Linked DNA regions of Homo sapiens: region 2 is linked to region 1. The links are contacts of gene promoters, found by promoter capture Hi-C in human tissues and cell types (Jung and others, 2019). All regions are on one chromosome and are shown on one strand. The core of a region is centred on a gene start or on the middle of the fragment in contact, and the rest is flanking DNA. Distances in the headings are between cores, read along the strand shown. Region 1 holds the start of EMX1 (empty spiracles homeobox 1). Region 2 overlaps SFXN5 (sideroflexin 5).

Evidence for each region. The method cuts DNA at HindIII sites, captures the fragments that hold promoters and counts their contacts. A contact is called where the count stands out against the background at its distance.
Region 2: a fragment that was not itself captured here is called in contact with the fragment with the promoter of EMX1 in region 1 in 1 of the 25 tissues and cell types used here (H1 embryonic stem cells).

Annotation. Positions count from the first base shown.
Region 1 is chr2:72,915,625-72,920,575 of GRCh38, forward strand. EMX1 (empty spiracles homeobox 1) reads left to right here and starts at 1,895. Exons shown (of 3, transcript NM_004097.3): 1 at 1,895-2,748. The coding sequence starts at 2,229. RefSeq lists silencers at 381-550, 1,691-2,110, 2,181-2,300 and enhancers at 642-1,259, 1,260-1,876. The HindIII fragment of the contact is 9,258 bases long and covers 1-4,951 here.
Region 2 is chr2:72,951,388-72,955,860 of GRCh38, forward strand. All of the region lies in intron 13 of SFXN5 (sideroflexin 5), which reads right to left. Among named protein-coding and RNA genes, the nearest start is that of EMX1, 36 kb to the left of the region's middle. RefSeq lists enhancers at 205-706, 707-1,208 and a silencer at 2,602-2,771. The HindIII fragment of the contact is 8,875 bases long and covers 1-4,473 here.

The DNA of each region.
Region 1 (4,951 bases), core at 645-3,144:
GGAACCTTGTTCCAACAAAATCCCGTCGTTGTCTCCTTCCATATGGAACGAAAATCTCCTTCTGTACCTCTGCCCAGCTCCGCACCCCCGCCCCCTTAGAGATACGGCCTGGTCGGGTCCTGGTCCCCCCCTCGGCGGCGCTTCCACTTTTCCCAGACTGAGGGTGGGGAAAAGGAGGAGGGGGAAGAAATCAGAGGAGGAAAAGTCGGGAGGTAGGGGAGCCGGGAGACAGGAGAGGGGGAAAATAAAGAGCCTGAGACACAAACGAGAGGAAAAGACCATCACAGAAAGCTGGAAATCTCCGGAGAGGCCAGCGAGAACCCGCGCTCCCCACGGATTCCATCATTCCTTCCGAAGGCGCCTCTGCGGTGTCTCAGCCGTGCCAGGCCCCGGGGTTCCCAGGACGCGGAGGAGTGCTGGGTGCGGCCGCCTCGCCTCCCCACCCCTGGCCGCCCCTCCCCACCTCGCCCAAGGGGGCCGGAACGGCGTCGGCGCGCGGGGGCTTTTCGGAGCAGTCGAGTGGAAAATAGACTTTAACCCGCTTTGTGGCGGCCGGGGCGCCCTGAGCGCTCTCCAAACCACGGCTCCCGGCGCTCAGGCGGGCCGCTGCCAAGACCCGGCCTGGAGTCCCCGCAGAGTTGCGCGGCGCACGGACCCCGTGGCCTTGGGGCGTCAGGAGGCCCAACCCAGATCTGCGCGCCCAGGCAGCGCTCAGGCCGCTAGAATGGACCCCGGCAGCGGCGAGGAAGCGGAACTCTCTGCGGCTCCCTCTCCGCAGTGCGCCGGCAAGGTCCAGGTCCCAGCCTCCCCACCGCCGCCCGCGCCCTCCTAGGCCTCGGAGCGGCGCCTTTCTGCGGCCTCGAAGGTGGGGTGGGAAAGTTTGGGGAGTCCCGGCTCTCACAGCCTGTCGTGAGAACTGCCCCCGGGGAATTCGTCCGCCGTACGGAAAAACTGGCCGGAGCAGAGTCGTCCGCGGTTCCGCGGTCGCGGGTGGAAGGTGAAGGTCGAGGGAGGTCAGGCTGCTTCTGCGTGTCCTGACGGCTGGCGTGTTCTCTTGAGATGGGCTCGGGCTACTTGGCCAGCTTCAATTTAAGCCACAGTGTCTCCGAGGCCCTGACCTGGTCCGGCCCGCCGACACTTGAGCCCCCAGAGCCTCAGAGAAGGCGAGGGGGTGGATCTCCCAGTGCCGAGGCCCGCCGTCCTGGTCCAAGCCGGTCGCGGCACCGTGTCTGGGCACTGGAGCTGCTTCCAGCCCCGCGAACAGCTGGAGGGTGGCAGTGGGACCGCTCCGGCGGCTTCTCCCGCGCAGTGCCCCGCCTGGCCCCTTGTGAAGGGAGTGAGCGTCCCCTTTCCAGAGCTGTCCCCCGTGACATCCAGAAAACGCGAAACCTCAGGAACAAGGTCGCAGCTTCAGACCGCGGCCCAGGAGGCCGATGGTGGGTGAGTGGGAGAGTCCCGGAGAGCAGGGGGGCAGAGAGCTGGTTTTCGGGAAAACCAATGTGTTGGACCCCAAACATCCACCCTCCGCTCGGATCCAAGTTCTCTGAGAACTGAAACGACATCCCGGGACGAATGGGAGAGTTAGGCTGAGCTACACACCGGGGAGGGGAGGGTTGGAGTTTAGCCCCAAGCCCTTCGGACGCCTTCTTCGGCTCCCGCGTGGGTTGAGACGGCGGCACGGCCACCAGACTCAGCTAAAGGGCGGAGTCGCGAGGAGAAGCCAGTGGCGAGGGGAGGAGGAGGCCTGGATCTCCCCGCGAAGGCTCCAGTCCGGCTTTTGCCTCCGACTGCGGGCTCCCTCCCCACCCGCCGTCCCTCGCCCCGCCCCGCCCCGCCCCCCACCTTGGGGCAGGTGAGCGGCGGCCAATGGGCGAGCGCGGGGCAGGTGCCCGCTAACTCGCGCCTCGCAGCGCTGGGCGGCCGGGGCTGGGCAGGGCAGTGCGGGGACACCGGGGGCTGGGGTCGGTCCCAGCGGGACTCCGAAAGGAGGGAGACGAGCTCAACCCTCGGGCCTTACTGGCAGCTCGCAGCCTAGCACGGAGCCCGCGCCTGTGCGGGCGCCTGGAGCTGCCCGCTCCGCCGCAGCAGCCGCCGCGCCTGGCCGTACGCTGTGGCCGGACCCCGCGGTCGCTCGCTCACACACCCCTCGCCGCTCCGCGCCTGGCTCGCCCGCGGGGGCCGAGCGCGAGCGGGCGGGCGGGGGAGGTGAGGGGTGCGGGCGGGTGTGCATGTGCCTGGCTGGGTGCACACCCCGCAAGGCGGCGGCGCCAGGACGCGGAGCGCTCCCCAGAGCCCGGCTGCCTCGCACAGCTCCCGCGGCTGCGACCATGTTCCAGCCCGCGGCCAAGCGCGGCTTTACCATAGAGTCCTTGGTGGCCAAGGACGGCGGCACCGGCGGGGGCACTGGCGGCGGGGGCGCGGGCTCCCATCTCCTGGCGGCGGCCGCCTCCGAGGAACCGCTCCGGCCCACGGCGCTCAACTACCCTCACCCCAGCGCGGCCGAGGCGGCCTTCGTGAGTGGCTTCCCTGCCGCGGCCGCCGCGGGCGCGGGCCGCTCGCTCTACGGTGGGCCCGAGCTCGTGTTCCCCGAGGCCATGAACCACCCCGCGCTGACCGTGCATCCGGCGCACCAGCTGGGCGCCTCCCCGCTGCAGCCCCCGCACTCCTTCTTCGGCGCCCAGCACCGGGACCCTCTCCATTTCTACCCCTGGGTCCTGCGGAACCGCTTCTTCGGCCACCGCTTCCAGGGTGAGTGTCCACGCTGTGCCCGCCGAGGCGGCCGGCCGGCGCCCGTGCTGCGGCGATGCGGGGGAGGCTCGGGGGCGCGCGGGGCTGTTTAGAAGTTACTGCCGGGAAGGCTGCAGGTCCGCGGAGGTAGATTCCCAGGCAGGGAAGAGCTGTGCGGCATCCACCCGCGCCTTCGCCGCGTAGGTCTCCCTCCCAGGAAAGCAGGTGGAGACCTCCAGGCTTTTCTAGAAAATATACCAGTTCGGACGCAAGCCCAGGCGCGTCCTCGGAGCCTGTGCTGGCCCTCGCCACAGCCTGCCCAATTCTCTCTCCCAGCTGAGCCAGTCTCAGACCAGAGTACAACTCCTCCCGCTCTCCCTCCGCCCGGCTTAACCTCGCACCACGCTTCTCTCGCAAGTCCACCACCACCTCCGAGACCTCAGCCTTCGCTGGCGCGTCCGGGCGGGGGAAAGTCCATTCGCGTGCCCCAGCTCTGGGGGAAGCAAGGGCAGCAGGGAGGGCGAATCGGAGAGTTAATGTTCAGTGTGGAGGGCCTGGCTGTCTTGGGATGTTTCTCGGCAACCTTGGCCCGACTTCTCCAAGTCACACGTGCCTCTCCTACCCAAGGTGGGGAAGGTTTGCAGTAAGCAAACTGGCTTCCGCCGTTGCTCGCCGCCTTCGGGAGGGAGCCCACCCGGCTGCTGGAATACCGAGGACAGTTTTCCCGGGCAGGGGGCGGGGGCAGAGGGCTTTTAAGGTCGTAGCCAGTCCGAACCCCGGAGTTTGCATCCAGCAATCGGCTTGCTAATAAAGATCCTCCACTGGCCCTACACACACACACACACACACACACACACACACACACACGTTTCAATTATTTGTCTTTCCCGGAGAAAAGAGAGTTGCATTTGTTGGAGTTCGTTTTCTTCCTTGAAATTTGTTGGAGTTTGTTTTTTTCTTTTCTTTTTTTTTAAATTTTATTTTAAAGAGTGGCCTTGATTTGTACAGGCATCACTTTAGTTTCCAGTTTTATTTTGTTAGTGTAGACCAGACCACAGCCTTGTGAGAAGGGTCTATGGCTCAGAGCTAGGTAACCCGGCTTTTAGAGAAACAAATGAAAGGGACATGGCTGGAGCTTCGGCTCCAGGAGCTAATGTGACGGTCTGTAGTCTAGGTCTACAGTCAATTAGATGTTTGGCACAGTTGTTTAGATAATAAAATGAAAATTATCTCTTGACACTTTGACTTTCACAGAAAACCGCTTTCCCAGGTCCCGATTTGTCAGGCAATTTTTTCAGTCCCACCTGGCCAATAGATGCTGACCTGGCAGATACCACAAAACCAGAGAATGTAATTACTAGAATAAGAATTGTTGTGGGTAGCCTTGCCTCCTCTTTGAAGATTTCAAAGACTTGCCCAAATCCAAATCCGAAAAAACAAAAATGCTACAATGTCATCTGCCTTGGGCAAGAGTTTCTGCCACTTAAAAATAAATGTTTACTGATAACATGAGGATATCTTTAAAATTGAGCAATCTACCCTGGTCCTCCGTGGGCTCGATCCGAAGCCTGGGTCTCGAAACCTGGCGCCCAGGGGCCGAGTTGTAGTTGGGGCGGTGTGTGAGCCCGCGGGCCGCCGCGGCCGAGGGGCTGGCGGGTTGGAGGCTTGTGGAGGGATAGGGGCTCGGAGGAGAGGGCGGGGTCGTTCCTAAGTCCTGTGGCCTCCAGCCGTTCAGCTTGTCCGGAGTCGGCATCCTGGGCCGCACCCTCGGCTTCGAATCCAGCCCCTGACGCCCTCCGCACCGCGGTTCCTGCCTCCGGGCGCCGAGGGCCGGGGGCGCCTGGAGAGAAATCCAGCTCCGGCTCTGAGCGTCTCCAGTCAGGCGAGGCGGATAAATCCTTCGCAAAACCCTCTTGGAAATTGCCGCCGCTTCCTGAGCCATCAGTCCCAGCGGGTACGTTATCGAGTAGCACAAACAGTTGGATTTTTCCCTCAAGAACCGAGTCTGGACGCGGAGATGGAGCCAAGTGTGGCTGCATTTTCGGACCCGGAAATCCGTTGGGCACTGAAGGACTTTTCGAACCCTGTAGCGCTGTTGCTTCGCGGTCCATCGTCGCCGCTGCAGACGGATGCGCTCCCCGGCGGCTCTACGCCCTCCAGTCCCGGCCAGGCCTCTGGGCTGGGAGCCGAGCCGTCTCGGGCCCTCCGGCGCCGCGTTTTCTAG
Region 2 (4,473 bases), core at 820-3,319, 36 kb after region 1:
AGAATAGCCAAGCACCTTCCCTTGTGGTGTGGGAAGGGTTAACCTTGAGCTATTTGTCTCTGTCTCCTGCCTCACTGTGGGTGGGGGGCTAGAGTCAGGAATGCATTTGGGGCCACCTCTGCCTCTACAGCCTGGGAGCACACACACACCTGCAGCCAGGCCAGCAGATAGTTTACATATTTGAACCTGGAGCTAAGGTGCGGAGACATAAACAGGAAACTGGATCCCCTGCCTGTGCCCCATTCTTGGGGGCTTTTACCTACTACAAAGAACTTCCTCCTGCTGGCCTTTCTTCTGATGGCTTTTCTGCCTCCTTTTCAAAGGCATGGGGCTGGGGGGGTGGGGTGTTCGGTGTGACCCTGTGACATAGCTCAAAGCCACCACCTGCTCCTGGGCAGAGGTCTGGGCTTCTGAGGGTCTGCAGAAGGTGGCGACATTGACGCAGGGCCCAAAGCCCAAGCAGGCACCTGGCTGACCCTGTGTGCCTGAGGCCTCTGCCAGGCCTGGGACCGCTTTGTCCACTGGGCACAACATCCCATCCTTTCTCACCAGGGCTGGGCAGGCCCCATGTCCTGTTCCGACACACACACATCCAGGCCCCACCTTTGGGAGAGCTATCTTGAGTGTCTTTGGAGAGCAGAGGCATTAGGCTGGGGCTGGGGAGCAGTTGAGGCCTAAGCCTAGACCCCTGGACCCCTGAGTTAGGCCTCTGGTGCTGGCTCTGGGCTCCCACTACCTTCTCAGTGAAAGAACCCTCAGCTGGACACTCCAGGCCTTCTGGGACTTTTTCCAGCTTCTTCACCCATCAACTGCTGTCCATTTTCTGTACATTCTAAGTATACGCTTTGAGTCCTAAGTCCAGGCTATATCCTGACCCTCTAAGGCTGCCTCCTCCAGGAAGCCTCCCTTGATATTCTTAGACCAAATCCATTGCTGCTGCCTCTGTGTCCCCAGCACATGCTTTTATCTCCATCCCATCCCCAGGCACAGGCTCATTTGCACTCTAAACAGGGGTGACTACAGTAGTCCCCTGCCCCACCCCACTGTGAGCCGCTCCAGGCAGCTCGGTATCCCTATGCCTTGTGCACAGTAGGTCCTCAGTAACAGCTGAGTTAAGTGACACTGAAGTGCCTCGTGGGCAAGAATCCTGTCTTACACTTTTCCGGCTCCCCTGTGCTATGTGTTCCCAGCAAGTGCTCAGACCACACCCCGCCCCCTACCATTTTGGAGCTTTGCACCATTCCTGGGTGCCCTCTGGTGGACCAATCTCAGAATCATTCTCTGTCCTCTGTCTTCTAAGCTTTGAGGCCTCAGTTTCCCCACATGTATGATGGGAAGATTTTCTAAGATCTCCTGGTGCCACGAGGATTATATCACAAAATGGATAGGATGGCCCTTTGGAGGCTTAGAAAACCTGCGTGATGCTGTGTAAAGAGGACAGCACCCAGGGTCCCCACACTCAGCCCCAGCCCCACTCACTAAGCTCACAGGGCTGAGCCTTGCTGCAGGCCAGGCATGTTCCACTTTGCATGTATTAATGCCTTTAATGGAAGCTCTGCACAACCAAGCCTTCTCCCTCCCTATCCTGGATTCAGCTAGGTGTCCTGGAAGGTCCTGGAAAAAAGAACTGTGGGGGAAAGGCTGTCAGGCAGCCCCGCCGAGGCCTGCCACCCGGGCATGTGTACATGTTCTTGCGTGCACGTGTATGTGTGCGAGCCTGTGTGCACGCGCAGGTTTGGGGTGGGGGTGTGGGGAACAGGCAAAATGACAGGTGGCGTTGGCGTTCCTGGGCTCTGAGCGGCTTTGCCATTCCCATCCATCCCTCCTGGGGGGTCCTGTGGGCAAACTCCAAGAAAGCAGCGGGCGGGGAGGCAGCAGATTTCTGACGGCAAAAATAGCCCACTTTAGAGTTCAGTAGGGACTGATTAAACCAGTAAATGAGAAAAACCCCAAACAAACATCTCCAAGCAAAGTAGGAGATGGATTTGAGACTGGAGGGAAGGAGGCCCCTGCTCTGGGAGACGCTGAATGCTGCTGTAGACTCAGGAGGGATGCAATGTGCCCTAGACATTGTCTCTGGCCTCGCATCAACCCTGGAAGAGTGGGAGAAGCAGGGACCAACAAAGTCAAGGTGAACCCAGATGAGCCACGCTCTGTACTAGGTGTTGATAAAGGGCACCAGTTCTCTGCCACAGGGACACCTTGTGTCATGGAAGGGAGAAAGGTCTACTGTCCTAAGGGGGAAGATGGAACACAGAAAACACACCACCAGAGCCTACACAGGTGAGGTGAGACAGATCTTAGTGGGGAAGATCAGGGAGGACTTCCTGGAGGAGGAGCCATTTCTAGACCAGCTTGAATGTGGACTCACATTCCAGCTTATTCCCAGCTCTTCTCCATTCTTGGTTGGGGGTCCCAATACTTTCTCAAAGAAAGATAAGCTGGGGGGACTTTGCTTCTGGTGGCTCACAGCTGTTTAGCCAGGCTGGTTCATCAAAACCACCATTTTCATCAGGGCTGGTAAGAGGGTAGAGATAGTGGAGGTTCTGGTACCCACTGAGGGTACCCACATTTTTGCCCATACAGGGAGGGTATGCCTCTCTGTTTCTTAACCCTGAAAGCTGTAAGTGGGGAGGCAGGAAGGAGTATGGGGTGGCTGAGGTTGGCCTTCCTGCCTCGTCTACCACATGGGTGTGGCCTGTAAGAGCCACCCTCTGAGGCCAGGACGAGACAAGGCTCATAACGGGCTGAGGACATCGGGGGAAGGCTTTAGACTTCCTCAGAACATGGCTTCTAATCCCCAGAACCCTCTAGAGCTGAGGTGAGTAGGGGCTCAGCTGAGAGGGAGGGACATGGGGAGTTCCCAGGGCTGACATGGGAGGCTCAGGGCAGGAAGCCCTGGCCCTGGGAGACTCTTAGGCTGTCTTTTCTTCTAGTTGAGGTGCTTGGCAAAAGCTAGAAGGGGCAGGAACAGGTGGTGGGGGTACCGGGGGAGGTCAGTTCTCTGCTGAGGCTTCAGGGAAGGCAGACGGCAGATGCCAACAAACCAACAAGACAGCCAGGAGGGAACAGGCCCACAGGAAACAAGCCTCCTGGCCAGTGAACCTCACTCCTGCCCCCAGGGGCCCCTGCAACAGCTGAGGCAGGGAAGAGACACACGCTCATAGCCGCCAGCCCCTACAAGGGCGCCCCAGGGCCCTCTCCCCTGCCCGCAGCCCCAGCCAGGAAGCACACTACCCAATCTCTCATCCCCACCCCAGCCCCCACAGCTGCAGGGAGGACAAAGGAGCCAGTGAGGGTCTAGGGGCCATAAGACACGTTCCCAGGAAGGCTAAGGCCCTGCCCACTTGCCGTGCCCAGACATGGCTCCCAGAGGGTGGCTCCCAGAGGGCACACCCTTGCTGCAGGCCGGGCACCTGAGGGGCAGCATGTAACTCAAGTGGACTCACTCAGTCCACTGTCTAGCACCAGGGCCCTGTCTTGAGTTTTCACTTCCCTAATCCTACTGGGAGAAACTTGGTTCTTACAGGAAGAAACTTAGTTCCAACACCTCATCTTCCAGCTGGGGAAACTGAGGTCTTTGAGGTTAAGACCCAAGGTCATATGGAGAGTTGAGGTAGAGGGATGCCAGCCAGAGGGGCAGAGGGCAGGCCTTGGGGCCACGGGACAGCCCCTCCACCCCAACATCACCTAGGGATGGGTTCGAGCTCCCGGCTGCCCCCCTGCTCCCCGTACCTCACTCATCCACAGACAAGCCCCACCTTCTGTGGACACATTTCAACCTCACCAAATCAGCTAATTATTGACAGTTGGTGAAGAGGAGATTTCACTTTTTCCTCCTGTTAAACTGCTCCTAATTAGTTCCCTGTCACCACGGCTGGCTCGCTCGCCCGCCCGCCGCCCGCCCGTTCACGCAGTAATCCCGCTGCACAGTGCCTCATTAACCTTTTGCTCCTCTCCTGCCGCCTGCCAACAAGATGAAGACAAAAACAGATTGTTGAACAATGGCTCCGGCTTGTATGTGCAGCCCCGTTCCCCAGCCCCCGAGCTCCCAGGGGAAGAGTGAGGAAAAGAGAGGGGACTGCGGTGGGGGAGAGCCCGAGAGGAATCAAGGAAGGGAGAAAGAGGCACAAAGAAAGATTGAAGCAGAAACAGAGGCAGGGATGTGGGGAGGGGCCTTGGCCAAGGTACTGCTTCTTGCTCCAGAGAGACATGAGGTTCATTAAACAGGATTGGAAGTGCTCCCAGGTAGGGAACACCGGCTGTCAGAGTTAGAGGGACATTTGCCACCACCCACTACAGCCTCTTGTGGTAGCCAAGCCCGTGTTCCTGGACACTGGACCCTGCACATCTCCCTCAGGGAACCTGAGGCCCCAGTGTATGTCTGTGTTGCAGTGGGGAGGACACAGAGGACCCCATTTGCCTGGAATCCAGAGCCCCAATCACCAAAGGGGGCAAGGCCAGAAAGGCCAC